7 separate regions of the Homo sapiens genome follow, and regions 1, 3, 4, 5, 6 and 7 are each linked to region 2. The links are contacts of gene promoters, found by promoter capture Hi-C in blood cells and fetal thymus (Javierre and others, 2016). All regions are on one chromosome and are shown on one strand. The core of a region is centred on a gene start or on the middle of the fragment in contact, and the rest is flanking DNA. Distances in the headings are between cores, read along the strand shown.

Evidence for each region. Contacts are between HindIII fragments. The CHiCAGO score rates a contact against its expected background, and 5 or more counts as called.
Region 1: a contact is called between a fragment that was not itself captured here and the fragment with the promoter of KCNRG in region 2, in 2 of 17 cell types (fetal thymus and total B cells). The highest score is 7.2, in fetal thymus.
Region 3: a fragment that was not itself captured here is called in contact with the fragment with the promoter of KCNRG in region 2 in 2 of 17 cell types (total CD4 T cells and total B cells); the score reaches 6.5 in total CD4 T cells.
Region 4: a fragment that was not itself captured here is called in contact with the fragment with the promoter of KCNRG in region 2 in 1 of 17 cell types (total B cells); the score reaches 5.4 in total B cells.
Region 5: a fragment that was not itself captured here is called in contact with the fragment with the promoter of KCNRG in region 2 in 1 of 17 cell types (fetal thymus); the score reaches 5.4 in fetal thymus.
Region 6: a fragment that was not itself captured here is called in contact with the fragment with the promoter of KCNRG in region 2 in 1 of 17 cell types (total B cells); the score reaches 6.1 in total B cells.
Region 7: a fragment that was not itself captured here is called in contact with the fragment with the promoter of KCNRG in region 2 in 7 of 17 cell types (naive B cells, total CD4 T cells, total B cells and 4 more); the score reaches 11.2 in naive B cells.

Annotation. Positions count from the first base shown.
Region 1 is chr13:50,827,604-50,830,356 of GRCh38, reverse strand. All of the region lies in intron 1 of DLEU7 (deleted in lymphocytic leukemia 7), which reads left to right. All of the region lies in intron 3 of DLEU7-AS1 (DLEU7 antisense RNA 1), which reads right to left. Among named protein-coding and RNA genes, the nearest start is that of DLEU7, 15 kb to the left of the region's middle. The HindIII fragment of the contact is 1,443 bases long and covers 715-2,157 here.
Region 2 is chr13:50,014,173-50,016,935 of GRCh38, reverse strand. It overlaps KCNRG (potassium channel regulator), which reads right to left and starts at 1,492. Exons shown (of 2, transcript NM_173605.2): 1 at 865-1,492. The coding sequence starts at 1,442. It overlaps TRIM13 (tripartite motif containing 13), which reads right to left. Exons shown (of 2, transcript NM_213590.3): 2 at 1-2,763. The region is part of intron 10 of DLEU2 (deleted in lymphocytic leukemia 2); the gene reads left to right. The HindIII fragment of the contact is 12,687 bases long and covers 1,084-2,763 here.
Region 3 is chr13:50,978,025-50,980,802 of GRCh38, reverse strand. No RefSeq gene overlaps it. Among named protein-coding and RNA genes, the nearest start is that of RNASEH2B-AS1, 69 kb to the right of the region's middle. The HindIII fragment of the contact is 1,672 bases long and covers 579-2,250 here.
Region 4 is chr13:50,847,631-50,850,438 of GRCh38, reverse strand. It overlaps DLEU7-AS1 (DLEU7 antisense RNA 1), which reads right to left. Exons shown (of 5, transcript NR_046551.1): 5 at 534-1,902. Among named protein-coding and RNA genes, the nearest start is that of DLEU7, 5.3 kb to the right of the region's middle. The HindIII fragment of the contact is 796 bases long and covers 915-1,710 here.
Region 5 is chr13:50,961,217-50,963,916 of GRCh38, reverse strand. It overlaps a transcript of RNASEH2B not described here. Among named protein-coding and RNA genes, the nearest start is that of RNASEH2B-AS1, 52 kb to the right of the region's middle. The HindIII fragment of the contact is 4,044 bases long and covers 1-2,700 here.
Region 6 is chr13:50,877,432-50,880,131 of GRCh38, reverse strand. No RefSeq gene overlaps it. Among named protein-coding and RNA genes, the nearest start is that of RNASEH2B, 31 kb to the left of the region's middle. The HindIII fragment of the contact is 2,773 bases long and covers 1-2,697 here.
Region 7 is chr13:50,934,098-50,936,797 of GRCh38, reverse strand. It overlaps RNASEH2B (ribonuclease H2 subunit B), which reads right to left. Exons shown (of 11, transcript NM_024570.4): 5 at 1,799-1,913. Among named protein-coding and RNA genes, the nearest start is that of RNASEH2B-AS1, 25 kb to the right of the region's middle. The HindIII fragment of the contact is 1,812 bases long and covers 396-2,207 here.

The DNA of each region.
Region 1 (2,753 bases), core at 187-2,686, 810 kb before region 2:
CATGTGGTGGAGGCTTGATACACATTTGAAATAAATTTAACTAATTCATTTAGCTGAGTTAAACAGGCCAAGGCCATTACCCCAATAGATCAGTTGAGTTACATGAGAGTATCTCAACTGGCTTAAAAATGTAAATGCTGGCCATCAATTTGGACTGCTGTAGTAATCAATACATTTCATATCCAGAGTCTGAAATTACACAAGGCTTTAGAAGTTTCAAAACCTGCTTTTAGATTGCTCAACCATGTAGTTCTAATTCTGGCAAAGTACTCAAAGCATCGTGTAGGATATTACATCATTTCTGGGAGCATCTGGGATTTGCTAAATAAAAGCGGCTGGGAGGATAGGCTTTGTTGTTGAATGGAAAGCATCCTAAGTGAAATCATCACCAATATTGATCATGTGAGTTTCTACTGAAAGCCCATGAGCCATTTAATATACTATTGCCTTAATGCTGTGACTTGTGACCCCTACCTTCCATTGCAGACTCAGCAGAAGTTTGGTCGAAGGCAATGATTATTGGATCCAGAGTTGGCCTTCAGACCTTCTGGAATGGTAGAGAAGCACACACCTGTTTTATTTTTCCCTACCCTGGCTTAAGAGTCCCACGGAAAGCCTATTCCTATTAATTTGTTTTCTTTGCTAATATATTTGAGAAAGGATAAAAAGGAAATACTGTACTAGAATAGTAAAATAAAGTGAGTTTGCAAAGCTTGCCAGAGATCTGAAGTTTGCCCAGGGCCTCAGGGACCAGTACAGCCCAGCAGTCGAATTTTATTGTACATGTAATTTCCCCAAGCAACACCTTCTTTGATTCTTTACAGTAAAACATGAAATTGACTTCAGGTTTTCTGCCCACAACTATATTTTTAAAGGCATTTTAGTCTTCTTTGGGTGATGAATTCCTTTGCATACTGGCTAATAGGCACATGTCAGCACACGTTTTAGTGGTTCCTTCTATTTTGAATTTCCCCTTGCATGTTTTCTTTGATCCTTATACTTTGTAGTTAGTATTGGATTACTTCTATAAAGCAATCGGACAATTTTCCTTGATGTGGATCTTGAGGAAATAGTCCAGAGTGATTTTTCTCTCCTACTTTCCCATTCCCTAGCAGTATGCTTCAGCACACAGGCCACCCCATAAGCTATGGGACAGGTCATCTACAGCAGGGATGTCCAATTTTTTGGCTTCCCTGGGCCACATTAGAAGAATTGTCTTGGGCCACACATAAAATACACTAACACTACTGATAGCTGATGAGCTAAATTTTTTTTAAAAATCACAAAAAAAATCTTACAGTGTTTTAAGAAAATTTACAAATTTGTGTTGGGCTGCATTCAATGCCATCTTGAGCCACAGGTTGGACAGGCTTGATCTTAACAGCTCTTTGACACCTTCTGGGCAGAAATGAGCAACACACAAAGGTAGGGAAGCAAGAATGCTTTAAAGAGAAAAGAACAAAAAGTATGGTAGCTTGCGAATCCTTGAGCATGGTATGGTTCTGTCCTGGCACCTAGCTCGCAGGTGGTCCTGCTGCCACTGTTTGCTAAGTTGAAATGAACATTGGTTTTGTTTCTGAGGGATGTTTTCTAATAAGCACTTTGTCAGAAACCCAGGTCCTTCTCGGTCAAAAAACAGGGTTTTTCATAGGGAGAAGAATAGTTTCCCCTTATAGACAGAATTAGGAAGGAAACTCTGGTCCCTCATCAAACTTTGGTTCAACTTTTAGTTCTTCCTTCCATTTTTTTTGAGTGACAGTATCTGTTTCTCTTTTCCTACATTATTGAGTTGAATTTTTAGCTCATGGATTTTCAGGGATTATTCTTTATTTACATAATCATTTAAGTCAAAGTGTTTCTCACTGTGGCTACATCCCACAAATTTGTGATATAGTTCAGTATAAAGTATTTGAAACTTTCAATTATTTTTTCACTGATCCATGAATTATTTAGAAGTGGGTTTTCTAAGTCACACATGTTTTGGGAAGGGTATCTATGTTATTGATTTCTCATTTATTTGCATTGTGATTTGCATGATAGAGTCTTTCTGATATTTGTTGAGATTTGCTTTGTGACATTATAATATAGACAGCTTTATAAATAGTCCACATATGTTTGACAATAATGTATATTTTCTTATTTCCATTGGCTCAAGCTTGTGATTAGTGTTTTTCAGTCTTTCTCTGTTTTGTTGTTTGATCTATCTAGTTTCAGAGGAAGCTAGGTTAAAATCAGCTTGTATGTGTGTAGACTGAATGTATGTTATGATTATCATATTAGGGACATACAGGTACAAAATTGTGACATCTGCTTGGGGAATCATTCATTTTATTAGTCATAGTTTTATTTCATCCCAAATAATGATTTTTTTTGGTTTTATTTTGGCTTCTCTTTGCTTGGCATATATTTAAATATCCATTCACTTTCAATCTTTATGTGGTTTTAGATTTAAATGTGTTTCTTGTAAACAGCATATAAAACCAATATAGTAATCATTATCTTCCAAAAGGTGAGTTTATTGCTTTGCACTTGTTGTGCTTTCTGATATGTGTAGGCTTACTACTATCTTTTTTAGTGCTTTCTGTTTACCTTGCCTTATGTTTGTATCTTTATTTCTCAAGTTTACTTTCTATATACATAAGGTCAATAATCTGTTTTTTCTTTTTCTTTGAGACAGGGTCTCGCTCTGTTGCCCAGGCTGGAGAGCAATGGCATGATCATTGCTCACTGCAGCCTTGACCTCCTGGGCTCAA
Region 2 (2,763 bases), core at 243-2,742:
TCCTGTTGGCTACTGCTCAAGTTAAGAAAATATCTTAAAATACGCCTACCTTTACCAAAAAAAAAAAAAAAAGTATATTTTAAATGATACCAATAAAGAACACATGCAGGCTTTTCTTTTCCTCCTAAAAATTAAAGCCAGCTTTCACAGTTGGTAAAATAATGGTAGGACAGCATTAAGACATTTTACGGGGGGAAAAATGTTTGTGACAGCAGAGTGGAAATCAGCGTTAGGATCCAGCCAAGAACAACAGAGGGAGTAAGTGAAGAATTGACTCAGGAGCAACTATCCTTAACATACTGACAGCCTATCCCAATATTTTGAGTTGTTTAAGAGCCAAGGCTGTAACAGGATACCAAATTTGCCATGAGATATATCTGTCTTTAAGGGTGTTTAAAAATAAAGTCAGCTGAAGGAAAAACAGTAGTTGAATCATAAAACTGAAAGAACAACTTATATAGTGTGTAAGGAACTCAAGAGAAACCAGTGAGCGAGCCTTTATGTGAACCACTGAAACAATCTCTTAAAAATAAGGCAATTCTTTTCTAAGTCAAATTCATTAGCAATGGAACATAATCTACAAAATTATTTTCTCCCATGATTTGAATGTCCATAGTCTCAGTTTTTTCTGGGCAGTCTTCATTTATTCCTTTTGTCCCACCTAATAATAGCCCCTTTCACTCTAAAAAGTATCCCAGTTTGGAAAATAATTATTTGGTCATTCTACCCAACTCCACTGGTTACCCCAAAACATTATTTTGAATAATCATCTTTTCCAGAAGTTACAGGCCTGAGGAACTTCAAGTTTTTAGAGAAAACATCACAAACTGGTATACAAGAGAAATACTGCAAAGTACAAAATACCTGACTCCAGTTTGGTTATCAGTAGTGCTGTCAGAACCACACTGGAAAACCAGGTCATGGTAAGAAGGTCTTTGTGGAGGCAGTGGAAGTAAGGTCATCTGAGGAGGGAAAAAGTTACCATTCCAGGTCGGCGCTGAAGGTTGTTCTGTAAACACTGTAATCCTCCCTGTTAGCATCTCAATTGTTTTGCTGCAAGAGCCAAACACCCTGAAAAAAGCTTGAGTGTTCCGGCTTAGGAAATGTACCTCCACAAGAGCAGGTCTTGGCTGTAGCAGGTATGGGTTTAAGAGATCAACTAGAGAACGAAGTTCATAGAAAAGAGCCTCTCTCTGAAGCCTAAGATAGTCTGAAAATTCAGTGGGTAATAAAAGCTGGTGAGTTCTCAAAAAATCTAAGATGAAACTAAACAAATCACCATCTCTGTCTACAAAAATCTGGCCACCAACCATCTTGAATTCTTGGTCTCTGCCATCTAACATGCGTGCCAAACGAGAAGCAGGAAACTGCTTTATCGTAGAAAACCTTGTCGTGAATATCTTCCCTCCCACATTCAAAGTGACCAGTTCCTGACTACTCATTCTTCCCTCACTTCAAACTAGAGGCTACCATCAGCCACACTTAGGAAATCAACCTATAACCATAAATGTTGCTAGTTATACATGATTATGCAGTGGAGGGGAGGGAAGAATAACAAAAACCAGACTTAGATTCCCAGGAAACTACTGTAAGGTAAATAGTGTATCCATGGCTGTGTTTGCAAATTCGAGTTGCCTGGGAACTTGCAGTATACAAAATGAAAAAGCAACAGATGAGGAACTAAATAGCTTAAGGAAAACTGCCAATATATCTGAAGATAGACATCAAATAGATCCCTTTCCTGTCTTACATTTAAAAACTTATCCATGAAAACCTAGTAAAACTATATATATATATATATATATATATATATATATATATATATATATATATATATATATTTTTTTTTTTTTTTTTTTTATTACTGGGAGGGGAAAAGCATTCTCCCTCCCCATACCTGTCTACCACGCAGAGGCTAGACTTAAACGTTTTTCTTAATTTCTTATGATCTCCTTAGAAATTTAGTGGCTAAATCATGAATTACATGTTAGGAATGAGACAGCCTGGCAAGCTCAATTTGACTATTCTCATAGCTAGAAGGAAATCATTTCTTCTGTGCTTTAAATTTAGTTGCCACCTTTTATCCTGTCCCCATTTTCATTACCTCCTCTCAACCAAATTAGAGGAGGACTGAGGTAAAGAACTCTTATTTTCAGAAAGTCTATTCCACTTAATGGGCTTTCAAGGAATATCTTACTCTATGACACAAATAAGGCAGACTAGAGAGCAGTTATAAGGTTACTTCTTTGTTATATGAATTCTAAGCAAGGTGTTTATTCCATGAGAGGGTATCTTTATCTCTTGTGAGCAGACAGAACAGCATTAGTGTTCAGCTGATTACTTTGTAATAGCTGACAGACTGTTTTATCTGTTGTCAAATTAGTCTTAACTACACTAAACATTCTTTCTGTAAGCAAGTGGATTGGTTTGGTTGTACACTTGCCATCTTTCGAACAAAACAACACATAGCTGCCAGAAAAAAGGTAGTCTTCCCATTTCCTGCTCTTGCCATGTGTTCTATATATACATATATATGTATATATATGTATGTGTACATATGTGTGTGTGTGTGTGTATATATATATATATATTTTTTTTTTTTTTTTTTTTTTTTTTTTTTTTGGTAGAGACTGGGTCTTGCTATGTTTACGAAGCTGGTTTCGAACTGGAACTCCTAGCCTCAAATAATCCTCCCACATCACTGTCCTAGAATGCTGAGATTATAGACATGAGCCACCCTGCCCAGCCAGCTGATCCTTTTTT
Region 3 (2,778 bases), core at 165-2,664, 960 kb before region 2:
GCAAGTAATGATAATTTTACTTCTTTTCAATTTGTATATGTCTATTTTCTCTCTCTTATTTGTTTAAAACATTCTTATCATACTCCTGACTTTAATGGTAACACTACTGATATTTCTCCACTAAACATAATGTTGACTTTTATTTTGTATAAATTAGGGAAGTACACATCTATTCCTATTTCACTGAATTATTTTGAGATCAATAATGGCAGTTGAATTTTACTAGGTATCTTTTTTTTTTTTTTAATATAGGAAGGGGTTTAATTGACTCACAGTTCCACAGGGCTAGGGAGGCCTCAGGAAACTTACAATCATGATGGAAGGGGAAGCAAACACATCCTTCTTCACATGGCGACAAGAAGAAGTGCTACCAAGTATCTTTTAAGTATCTAAGGAGATTAATAATACCTTATTTCTTTCTTAGATAACTAATATGGTAAGACTTCTTAATATTGAACCATCTTTATATTATGAATAAACCCCAATTTGTCACATTGTATTATTCTTTTAATGAATTGTTTGAGTCTATTTGGTAATATTTTATTTAATATTTTTGCATTAATATTTACAAGTAAGCTTGTTTTTTTGAACTCTACAATCACCAGGTTTTAAAAAATCAGTATTTTGCTCACCTTTTTGTCCTGTTTAATAAATCTTTCCTGTACCCAAATCAATTTCATTTTGCTTGGTTTTCTTATTTTTAACCTCTGAGCTCTTGTGCTATTATTATTGTCTATCTTCCTTCAAACACATCTTTGTTTCTTTGATGGTTTACATTTTCCCCCATGCCTACCCTGTAGTGCGCCAGCTCAAACAACATCACTTGTCTTTCTGTGACTTCCATGATTCTTCCCTCTCTACTTTGTGCCCAAACTTCATAGAGGTAATTGTTTAAGTATTTTATGTTTGTAGTAAAATGCTTTTTACTATTTTTATCTGCTCTTTGGCAACACTTTATCTGCCATTTACTTTTTCTGGTCTTTTTTTTTCTTGTTTTATGTTTCATATCTTTGAAATAACTTGGGTTTGTTCTTTTTGGTTTCTCATCTTTGAGGCACAAGAGTTTTCCTTGGGCCAAATATTTACAGGGCCTCATCCCAGCCTAGTAGGAATTTTCTTTATAAACCAGGGTTTTGCATGCAAGTTTTAGTTCTATTTCTCCCTGATCAATAAAGACAGGTAGCTATGGGGATTTTTAAAAAGCAACGTCTCTCTTCTTTCCCTCTGCCACTGAGATAGATAGTTCCTGCAAATGTGATGTGGATGTGTGATTTTTTTTTTTTTAACTCCATCACCTCTTCATTTCACAACTAAATTGGGTCTTGGAGAGTTCTTGCTGTTCTGGTGTGTATACTGGTTCCTTCTGTCATAAACATGTGACTTAGACTTTATTCCTCACCTCTGCCCTCTCTGTTTACAAATGTATTTTTGCTGACTCAGTCTCATTTCCACAGCCATGAACTCTTCCTTCCTCTTTCTCCTGGAAGCTCCCCTGCTTTTTGCAGTCCTTCCATCTATTTGTTGTTCATAGTTTAAAATACCTCCTAGTTTTGCTGAAAATTGATTTTTTGGTTTCCATTTCTTATTTTCCTTTTGCTTTGGATGATTTCAAAGAAGAGATTGGGGGTGGGAGGTGGGGATAGAGGATGAACTTCCCACCTCCATCTTCAAATCAGAAACATTAGTATTTCAAAACTTTAGTGTGAGTAAAGGGTAAAAGGCAGCTATTTCTGAAAATCTTTTAAAGAAAAACAATATGGGATTCACTTTATAGAGCACATAGACATTGAAGCCTCAAGGTGGATTTAAAGCATTCGGGGTATTTTCTTAGCTTATCACTTGGGAAAGTCATCTAATCTTTCTAGGCCCCATTTTTCCAATGAAGGGGTTTGACAAGAAGATTCCTAGAGCCTGAAGACAGAACAGACTAGCCTTGAAGCCCAGTGTTCTCTCCTAGAGAAATATACAGAAGCATGCAAGCCTGTCCTGCCTGAGATTCATGGGCTGGTTACACTCCAGCCACCGCTGCCTCTGTCACCCTGCCTTCTACTCTAGCTCCATGGCAAATATTTAAAAACCAGACCTTTTCATAGGCATCATACTGATTTAGTCTCTAATCATGAATCCAACCAAAATATCTGGATCCTCTCTGCCATCAGTCCATGGTGACCAGATCTGGGCTGTGTTAGGGGTCATTGCATTCAGCCTGTACTCTGGAAATTACACTCCCAACATTCATTTACTAAAGCTTTAACAAAATTATTCAGACAAACTATCCATTTAAAAAGTAGACTGAGTAGTTATCTTTGAAGACCCAAGGAATCTTTACCCAAGATTAATAAGAAAAAACAAACTGAAAAAAAAACTGGTGATTTTGTTCACATTAAAAAAAAAATGCTGCATGTTAACCATCTGTCATGGTTTACTAATTAAATCACTGCAACTAATCTTGTATTAATATTTTTTTAAAGTTAAAAATGGGTTTCCTGAAAATGCTTAGAATTTCTGTGGAATTGCTTAGAAAGTCTTTTTACTTTTTGAACTTCCTTGGCCTTATAAAACTGTCAGCAGAGCAAAGTAAGGGCCAGTTTTCTGCAGCCATAACTCCCCCATCTCTTTTACAAGTCTTTATTCTTCGGAAATATAAAGGGTTGTGTTGAAAAGCATTAACTGGGGGCCGGGCGCGGTGGCTCACGCCTGTAATCCCAGCACTTTGGGAGGCCGAGGCGGGTGGATCATGAGGTCAGGAGATCGAGACCATCCTGGCTAACAAGGTGA
Region 4 (2,808 bases), core at 63-2,562, 830 kb before region 2:
TACCCTGTCATGGAATAATAATTACTCAAAATTCTTTAAAAATAAGCCACTGTTAAATAGATTGTACATTAAAATGAACATAGAGAAAGTATTCGATTTTTGTTCTTAGCAAAAGTGAGTAGGACATTAAGAATCACCTTCAATGCTTCTTTAACAAATTACCTATCATTAACTAGAAATGATCCATCAAGTCTATGATTTAAACTTTTGAGAAAGTTTAGATTTTTGAACAGAGGCATTTAAGATCCTTATGAATGTGGTTTCAATTTTCAAATGGAAAGTACAGATAAAATAAAATGTACATATGATTTTTTGAACAAAAGCTTGAAATTTGATTATTTCTGTGGACCATTTGCATTTTACGGTCAAATCAGCATCTTTAAGATCCACTTGCTAATTAAGAGTGAATATTAGAGAAACAGATGATGATAATTTAAAAAGAGATATACTTTATGCTAAAATATATATATTTTTATGTAAACATACTTTAAAATATTTTATATTTTTTCCTCCAAGAAAAAGAGTCAATTCAATCATGTTCAAGTATTTATTTTAAAAACATATTTTACCTATGTCAACTCTTCTGACCATTCTTAACAATATTTTGAAACAAAAGTGATCAAAATGATCAAACAAATAAAATAAACACATCTGTTGGCTTCTCTTGTTTTCCTAGCACAGACAGACAATGTGGGAAGGCTCTAGTCCAGTTTTCAAAACTAGTTTAGTTCTCCCTTGCTGCACTCAGGGTTTAAGAGTTGGAGATTACATTGAACCTCCCCAGATGAAGTTTTGACTTCATGAATATACCCATAGTGATCTTGTAACAAAAGCTAAGCAAAAGAACCATGTGGCCCCTCAACCCCCTCTCCTTGCCCCCTTTTTTCATGGTAATTACCATAGGAAAGGAAGCTTTGGAAAAACAGACGGAAGAGAGGAGCAGATGAAAGAGTAGATAAAACTCCAATGTCTGCTCGGCCATAAAGCCTGCCAGAAAAGAACTTGGAGAACAAGAGGAGAAAATTCCTTAGAGGAAAAGAAGTGTGTAAGGGAATGAGGATGAATGTAAGGAAAGGTACAGAGAAGATTTTTTAAAAAATTTAAATATAACACCGGGTGTGGTGGCTCACACCTGTAATCTCAACACTTTGGGAGGCTAAGGTGGGCATGGGCAGGTCACTTGAGGTCAGGAGTCTGAGACCAGCCTGGCCAACATGATGAAAACCCACCTCTATTAAAAATACAAAAATTAGCTGGGTGTGGTGGTACATATCCATAATCCCAGCTATCCAGGAGGCTGAGGCAGGAGAATTGCTTGAACCCGGGAGGCAGAGGTTGCGATGAGCTGAGATTGTGCCACTGCACTCCAGCCTGCCCGACAGAGCAAGACTCTGTCTCAAAAATAAATAAATAAATAAAAATAAAAAATAAAAATAAATTTAAATATATAGACCCAAGTCAAGCATTTCTTTCCATCACAGTAAAAGGGTACCTACTGAAACTTGAAAATACAGGATGATCCTGGAAAGTGATAAAGGTGGTCACATTTTTTTCATTAAGGATCCTAGAATTTAGTTGGCAAAATCACTGAAACTCACTTGACCTTTCTCTTCTCCATTTTTATCACTACTACTCTTTCTGCCACCTCATTTCAATACTATAAGCCATATCTACACAGATAATCAAAATAGTTCAGGAAACCAAGAAGCTTTCTTGGTTTTCTCTCCAAGTGAAATTTTTCCAAGTAAATTTTTCTCTCCAAGTGAAAGGATGTTCCGCAGGGGTTAGATTTTATAATCCAAAATGGAGGGGGAAATCCAGCAAGGTTGTCTTACTGAAATGTAGGCAGCATGAAAATTCATGGCATTCCGTCACTCTTAAACTTGAAATCATCCACCAAAGCTACAATAATTAGAAAAAATTATATTGACTTTTAAAAAATCCACTTTTGATTTTTTTCTGCCAATATCAATAATTCTCCTTGGAAATAAACTAACTGATTACTAAGCCGAAACCAAATAACTGATTATTAAGACAGAACCAAGCACAATGATTTATATGTCCAGAAAGAAATGCATTTTGTGTTGACAAATTGCAAAGGCGCAAATGTACATCAGATGACATCTGGACTGGCAGGTGAGAGTTAACATTTTTAACTTATTTTCTTTCCCTTTACCCACTCTTGTCTATTTTTCTTCTCTAGCTTCATTAAACTTCACCAGCTTCACAAGGTCTGGGAAGGTAGTGCATATGATGTTCTGAAAGCACACCATCCTATGTAAACAATTGTTTTTGGCAATTCAGAGACTTCAGGGCGGTATTGCGTCTTTGTTTTATCCACCAAAATCAAATGTTTAGGCCAAAGTTAGAAGGGCACGTGCATTTACTTTTATAACTTGGCATATTCAAACATTACAATGGTACGTTTAAAAAAAAGAATTTGGTCTTTTTTGCTCTTTCTTTCTTTCTTGGGCCTACACCTTGTCCTAGTTCCATTGTTTTCTCTTTGACAGTACATTTTCATATCTTGGTGTATCTCTTCAGCATCTGTTTCTCCTCAATCATAATTTTCATTCACGAATAATAACTCTTTGGTCTCTTTGGACATGTTTTGTTCTGACCTCACCTATGAACTTCACCAGGGTGCGCTGAAGGTTAACAGCTCTATTTCTGGAATTCTCTTGGATCCTTTTTGAGGAAAAATGCCAAAGAATATAAACAGGGCTCAAATGTATCTGGGCTCTGCCAAGTCCTTTGAGGACAGCTCCACAGAACTGTACCTTCTGCCAGCTCCCTTCGGTTCTCATT
Region 5 (2,700 bases), core at 95-2,594, 950 kb before region 2:
CGGGACTCTTACAAATTAGAAAACACTGAAGAGATGTGGCAGCTAAATGCAATGTACCATCACAGACTGAATTCTGAAATTAAAAAAGTATTAGTGGAAAGATAGGTGAAAGTACAATAAGGTAAATTTTCTGGTTTTGATCTTTGTAGTATGGTCATGTATGCTAATACTGAGGGAAGCTGGGTGAACATCATATCTAAACTCTACTATTTTTGTGACTTTTCTAGAAAAGTATAAAATTATTTCAAAATAAAGTAAAAGAGAGAGGAGAAAAATAGACCTAGAAGATAGAAAATAACAAAGATAATAGAACTAGCAAATGAGGACATTTAAGTAGCTATTTTAACTATATTGAAGTATTTAAAGAAAACTGCAAGCATAATAAGAACAGATACGGGAAGACATAAAGAAGAACCAAATGGAACGTCTAGAACTAAAAATTACAATATTTAAGGCCGGGCGTGGTGGCTCAGGCCTGTAATCCCAGCACTTTGGGAGGCTGAGGTGGGCGGATCACCTGAGGTCGGGAGTTCAAGACCAGCCTGACCAACATGGAGAAACCCCATCTCTACTAAAAATACAAAATTAGCCAGGTCTGGTGACGCATGACTGTAATCCCAGCTACTTGGGAGGCTGAGGCAGGTGAATCACTTGAACCCGGGAGGCGGAAGTTGCAGCGAGCTGAGATTGTGCCATTGCACTCCAGCCTGGGCAACAAGAGCGAAACTCCATCTCAAAAATAAATAAATAAATAAATAAAATTACAATATTTAAAGTAAAAATTAAATAACTAAGGTTAACAGAAGATGAAATGCTATAAATCAAAGTAAACTTGAAGATACACCTAGAAACTGTCTAAAAATGGAACATAAAAAAACAAACAACCAACAAAACAGAAACTCAGTGATAGGACCTGGAGGACAATACCAAGTGTTCCAGCATACATGAAATTGGAGGCCAGAAGCTGAGGGGATAGGGAGAAAAGGGAGGAAAGAATGGAAAAAGGTATTTAAAGAAATATTGGCCAGAAATTTTCCATATTTGATGAAAATTAAAAACTCAAAAGTTCAAGGAGCTTAATACACTCCCAAATGAGATAAACAAAAAGAAAACCACATCAACACATCATAGTCAACTTGCTGAAAACTAGTAATAAAGAAGAAAATCTTAAAAGAACCCATGAGGAGGAGACACATTATGTAAAGGAGAAGAAATATAAGAAATATCATAGATGTCTCATCAGAGATTATGCAAGCCAGAAGACAATGATTCTTTGAAAGGATCAATGAAATTGACAAACCTTTAGCTATACTAACAGAGAAAGCAAAAAGAAGACACAGATGACCAACATCAGGTATGAAAAAGGGAATATCACTACAGATCCACAGACATTAAAAGGATAATAAAAATGTGATGAACAACTTATGCCAATAAATTTGACAACCTAGATCAAATGGATACATTTCTTGAAAGACATAAATTACCAAAACTGGCACAAGAAAAAAAAAGAAAATTAGAATAGCTCTTCATCTATTATAGAAATTGAATTAGTAATTTAAAAGTTTCCCCCAAAGAAAATTCCAGGTCCAAATGGCTTCACTGGTGAATTGTGTCCGACATATAAGGAAGCAACAACACCAACCTCACACAAACTCTTTCAGAAAATAAGTGATGAAAGAATACTTCCCAACTCATTTTATAAGCCCAGTTTTACTCTGACATCAAAATCAGACAAAATCATTACAAGTAAAGAAAACCACAGACCAATATCCCTCATGAACAGAGATACAAAAAAGTACTTAACAAAATATTAGGAAAAAAACCCCATACTACATATAAAAAGAATAATATACTGTGACCAAGTAGGGATTATCTCAAGAATGCAAAATTAGTTTAACATTCAAAAATCAATCATTATAATTCATATATTAAAAGACATTCCTCTATTAAAAAGAAAACTACTTGATCATCTCAGTAGATACAAATTATTTGACAATATCCACATATGATAAATACCTATATATGATAAAAACTCTCAGTGAACTAGGAACAGAAGGAAACTTTCTCAGCCTGATAAAGGGAATCTACAAAAAACCACACACATAGATAAATACTGATAGATACATGGATAGATTTAGAAATGTTGATACGAGTATATAGTGTATATATGTGTGTGTACATGTTGTACACACACACACATTTCCTAGCTTTGGCTCCTAAGCAATGACATACCAATAGCAATGAGCATACCTACTGCCTAGATCTTGGTTTCTAAATACCATTCTTCACTGAAAGGAACCAGGGTTCTTTGAAAAAAAGGTGGATTCAGGGCTTGCACAGGACAAGAGGCTGAAACTCCAGTCGCAGAAGCAGGAATGTATTAAAGAATGATAGAAACATACCCAAAAGATACACAAGTCAGCTTGAAGGGTCTCCCACTAGCTCTTCTGAAACAACATGAGCATTAAAATTAATAATAATAATGCAATATAGCCCACTGGATAAAATAAAAATCTATAAATCCATACTGTTAAGAATTCATAAATGAGGGAAGAAGCAAGGAAAAGGGAAAGTTCTTCCTTACAGAAGAATGCCAACTGATAAATATAGAAGAAATGAAAGTTAGAAAATCATCAGATCCTAAAAATAGTGGGCAAACATCCGATAAGAAATAGGATACTTACAAAGTCCCAGAATACT
Region 6 (2,700 bases), core at 62-2,561, 860 kb before region 2:
TGAGAATCTATCTCCCTAATCACCCTCAGGCACAGGGTTATTATGTATTGATATCATACACACTAAAAAATTCCATCATACAGGTCTAGAAATACTTCCATAATACAGTAATATTTTAATAGAGTCATAACACACAGACAGCCACCCATTCTGCCTGTAGCCAGTCATGGAGCAATACATTTTGTACATAACCTGTAATTTCTTCTGGAGAGTGTAATTACAATGCCAATATGACATTTTATTTTTATTATTATTATTTAGTTAGTTAGTTAGTTACTTTTTGAGACAGAGTCTCACTCTGTCGCCAGGCTGGAGTGCAGTGGTGTGATCTCGGCTCACTGCAACCTCTGCCTCCCGGGTTCAAGTGATTCTTCTGCCTCAGCCTCCCGAGTAGCTGGGACTATGGGTGCCCACCACCACACCTGGCTAATTTTTGTATTTTTAGTAGAGATGGGGTTTCACCATGTTAGCCAGGATGGTCTAGGGGTTGATAAACTACAGTGCACAGGCCAAATCTGGTTTACTGCCTGATTTTGTAAATAAAGTTTTATTGGAACACAGCCTTGCCCATTTATTTACTTATTGTCTCTGACTGCTTTCATGCTACAATAGAGTAGTTGCAACAGAAACTATAGTCTGCAAAGCCTAAACTATTTACAACCTGGACCTTTAGAGAAAGTTTGCTGACTCTTTTTTTAATGGATAAACTAAAAGTATGTAAGTAAACATGATTTCATGTCTTATGATATGTCAGGTGAATGGTACAATCCTTTGGTTTAAGTTCTTAGTATTATACCTAAAGTATATCTACCATGAAATGCATTTTCCACCTTTCATAGTCTCAGCTGGTTAATCAAAATAAATGGATTCTATGGCATAATTCAGGATGTTACCATTTTTGCTTTTTAGATCAGCTCTTCACCCACTGTTTTCCTGTCATACACATGGTGTTCTTAAAATTGTAAATGAAAACTCATTTGAACTTACATTAGTAACTTCTGTTAAATTATACTGGATTGCTTATTAAGTAAGCATTATTATCCACATTAAATCTGTCACAGATGAAAAAATTACACATAAAGGAGACTGCTTGAGGCCCCAGGGCATGCTGTAATATACATAGAGGCTCCTGAATACTTGGTTTTCCATGTGGATCTCTGATTTTGCTGAAAGAAGTCTGTAAACTGATGTAGTCAGACAGCTCCCCACTGGCTACACATCTCTATAGAATTTAGAAGCATTGTTTATTTCAGCAGAGGTCTGGAATGAATTTTCCTTATAATTTAACTCCTGAAATGACTGTTTCAAAAGGTCAACTGTGGTGAACTTGCATATGTGACTTGCAGTCACAGCTAAGTCACGATCCCTTAGTTTTTCCAGAAGTCCACTAGAACGTTAGCTCCATGGCACTGTTATCTTGCATCTCCAGGTCCTGAAACAGCCCTTAGTGCATACTAGGTATTCAATAACTTTTTTTTGAATAAATGTTTTATGTAAATTCCATCACAAATATGGAAGATCTTAGAGGGGATTTTTGAAAACCAAAGAAAGTTGAAACTCCTTCACATGGAGTTTGGATGTTGAACTTAGAGGCTTGACTTAGCCATTTTTAAAAAACGAAATGTGTGTGTATGTTTATTTAAGGTACCTTAGTGACAGGTACAACCTACAGCCCAAAGACAATGTACAAAACCCAATGAGGGGACAAGCCTCCACTCTTTTATAAGATGCAGAAATTTGCAGGAGTCTATCACTCTTACTCTAACCATGAGAACAGACCAGAAGCACTACAAATGACAGTTTTATTTGTTGTTGCTTTCATTTGCATGTTTCACACTCATCAGAGAACCCAGGAGCCAAAAAAAAAAAAAAAAAAAAGAAAAAAATCCCTCAAATTAACTACATTTCCAAAAGGATCAAGCTCTTCCTAGAGAGAAGAGTCCCACAGCTGCTTTTGTTCCTAGGGACATGTTGGAAGGAGCACAGAAGAGGAAGGGAGAAACCAGCCTATCTTTAAACAAATTTTGGATGATTGTATATGGGTTGGCATAACAGAGTAGAATCACAAGGTACCCCAGGAATAGAACTAGTCTGTACCCACCCAGCCTCCATTGAGTGGATGGGAGTCGTACACTGAAAGCTGGTGCCAGGGTAGGAGAACTGAGAAATACCCTCCCCAGGTACACCAGGTCTTCCCAAAGTACAAGAAAGTAGCCCACTGAGCACAGGAAGCAAGGCAGGAGAAGCAAGAGGGATTCTCCAAGGCATGTGAGGTTCATCCATTGCAAGGCAGTCCCCATTACACACTGGGGGTAAGGCAGGAAAGCTGAAAGAAATCCCCTCCTAGAAAGCACGAGGCTTTCACCAAATGCAAGGCAGCAGCCTGCAGTAGCCAGAGGCAAAGCAGGAGAACTGAGAGAAATAGATGCTCCCGAAAACCCTTTCAACTCTCCAATCCCCTCAACCCTACCCACCCACCTCACCCCTACCTCCACCCTCCCTACACAAGGTCTCTACTGAGTACATTGTAGCCACCTATTGAATGCTGGAGGAAGAGCTATCTTAAGGCTCTGAGATGTGGAGGCAGAGTTTAGGCAAAGAAAAGGCCCCAGCAACCCAAGAAGTTGGTGGCTGGGCTGTAAGGCATAAAGAGAACTCCCACAGTTTGGAAAGTTGGGGGCTGGGCTGTGTGAAGCTTGG
Region 7 (2,700 bases), core at 52-2,551, 920 kb before region 2:
TGCTGAGGCACTAACATTGTTTCTAAATCTGGATTTCTGGGTTTTAAGATGATTGTTCTTATACAGCTAATAGCAGAATTCTGGACAATGAGTTAACTGCATTTTCAGCTTGCATTAAGTTGACAAAAATTAACATGGCTTAATTAAATTATTCTTCATTACTTTATCTTTTAAAAGTGGTTATGGGCTAATTCAGGTCACCCACAAAAAGACTGCTGTCTTCTGCCAAACTCAGCATCAGGGAATGTCTTTAATGGAACTGCTTTGATAAAACCCTGGCACCATATACCCCTCAGTTCCAAACTGGAGCTCCAAGTGTGGCCAAGTATGAATTTACTGGACCCCTTAAACATAAAATGCAATCAATAAGGTTCTTCTCTTTCCCACTGTAAGCTTACACTTCTTGGAATCACCACTTTCTTGGTCCCAGAAGAACTGTCATAGTTGGCCAAACCATCTATGACCCAAACAGCCACAACTTATCAGCCTGATGCTCTGGTTCCCACACTTTGTTTCCATATTAACCCTGAAACTACTTGGATGATTTTTTAAGACACCAAAGCCAAGTTTTTATACTATTTCTAACCTGTCAAAACACATTCACACACACTGCCTTACTTTTCCCTCTGAAAAATTAAATGAATGATAGTGAAAACGCATCTCTTCATTACCCTATCCTGCTCCTCCAGCCCATGTTCCCTGTGTCCAGGATCCCACCACTACACATCCTTTGGGTCAGGCACAAACCGAGAAGTCACTCTTGACTCCTCCTTCTCCTTGACCACCACCCAACAACCAGATGCAGTTGGGTCCATCTCTAAATGGCTACTTTCTTCTTGTTCTATCTCCTAAGATCAAGGCCACCATTATCTCCTGTCTGGATCACTGCAACAGCCTTGGTGGACCTGGCTTCTCCAATATACTCTCCACACTGCAGACTGCCATGCTTAAAACTTCACAGACACTCCACTACCATTAAGCAAAGTCCAAACACACACAGGGCCCTTTACCATCTGGACCCATGCCCAGCATTCCCGCCTCATTCCTTACCAACCTACATCCTTCCCCAGAATCCTATACTTTGAACTCCTTGGAACTTCCTGAACCTGACAAACTTTTCCATACATCTGAGCCTCTGTTACACTGCTTCTCTGACTATCCTTCAGGACTCCATAAAGAGGTCATTTCCCCCAGGAAAGCAACACAACATCTACCCACCTACATTCCCCACCCAACCCCGCCAGATTAGAAACCTGTCCTGTGCATCCCCAGTAAATTCAGAGTTCACTTCCGTTACACTGTGCGGTCACTGCTCAGCTTGTCATTGACCCCCATCAGACTGGGCGCAAAGTGAAGAAAAGGACAATGTCTTATTCATAAGTATCTAGAGCTTAGCACTAATGTGCAACATATGCTTTTTGGAAGGTGCTCGATAAATGCTTCCATCTATTAAGGTACAGGTTTTACGTAATTTTACAATGAGACATCTGAGGCAGAAGGCAGCTGAGTGACTTGCCTGATGTCACAGAACTAGTTCAAAGAAGAAGTGAGACTGAAGCCACACCTTGTGATTCCTGCCCTGTGGACGTAGGCCCTAGACTGCCATGGTTGTAGTTCCAAAGACTAAACACTCCAAAGCAATAGAGGAACAGTGCTGGCAGTGTTAGCAAATCTGAATGATAGTTTTCCCTATGGTGGACACAGAATAAGCCTTACATTCAGTGTGTCTGTAAGCAGCCACGTTCTTAGGCAAGGTCCATCCTTTCTACCAGCCATAAGCCTTTAAGTTATACCATACCTTTTTCCTCTGTCACATGATGAAGTAACTTCTCAAGTCCAGGAAGTTTCAGCAACAAGATGCAATTTGGAAACACGTTATCCACCACAACTTGATCAAGGGGCTGAAACTTCCCCTGAAAAAACAGTTAGTTGGAAAGCAAGCATTTCATTCAACAAAGACATTCAGAAAAAAAGAGAAAAAGACACATTAACTCATGGCTGGGCCTTTAAACTTAGTGCAGAAGCCACCTATTCCATCTAAGGAATCCCTACAATGGGACAGGCTCTAGGACGGACCCCAGCTCCCTTCAGGAAGCTCCTGTGAGCACTGGAGTCCCACACAGCACACCATCTACCTTGGGTGTACAGTCCCCAAATGAAATGGGGAAGAAAATCAATCTACAAAAGCACTGGAAGCCACAGAAGCTTGCAAAGATGGTGGAGACTGCCTGGGGATGGTCCAACCCATTCAATTTGAAGAACCAGCTGTGGTCACAGAGCAAGAGTCCTGACTGTCACATTGGAACAAGCCCAGACCAGGCCCAGACATACATCTGCCTCCCCATCATCACTCTAGGGATGATGAAAGAAGCACCCGCCACAAAAAGAAAATACAAAAGTGAATCTACCCCTGTCAAAGCTGCCTCACAATGCTTCCAAATTTAGACCAGAATAAAAGAAAAGACAGCCAGAGGGAGAAGTCATGGGAAGCTGCAGACAGGCTAAATCAGGCTCAGCCACAGAAGTTTATATGGCCTGGTTGCCAGTGGGCCAGAAGTGCAGACCATATGGATTCACAACATCATTCTTTGGAATTAGGTCTAGTTTTTCGTAACTGTACTAGTAGCAAGTAGAGGTGAAGTTTGTCTAAATTAAGGTATTAGCCCCCTGATTTGGGGACACCAGACTGTACCAGATGTA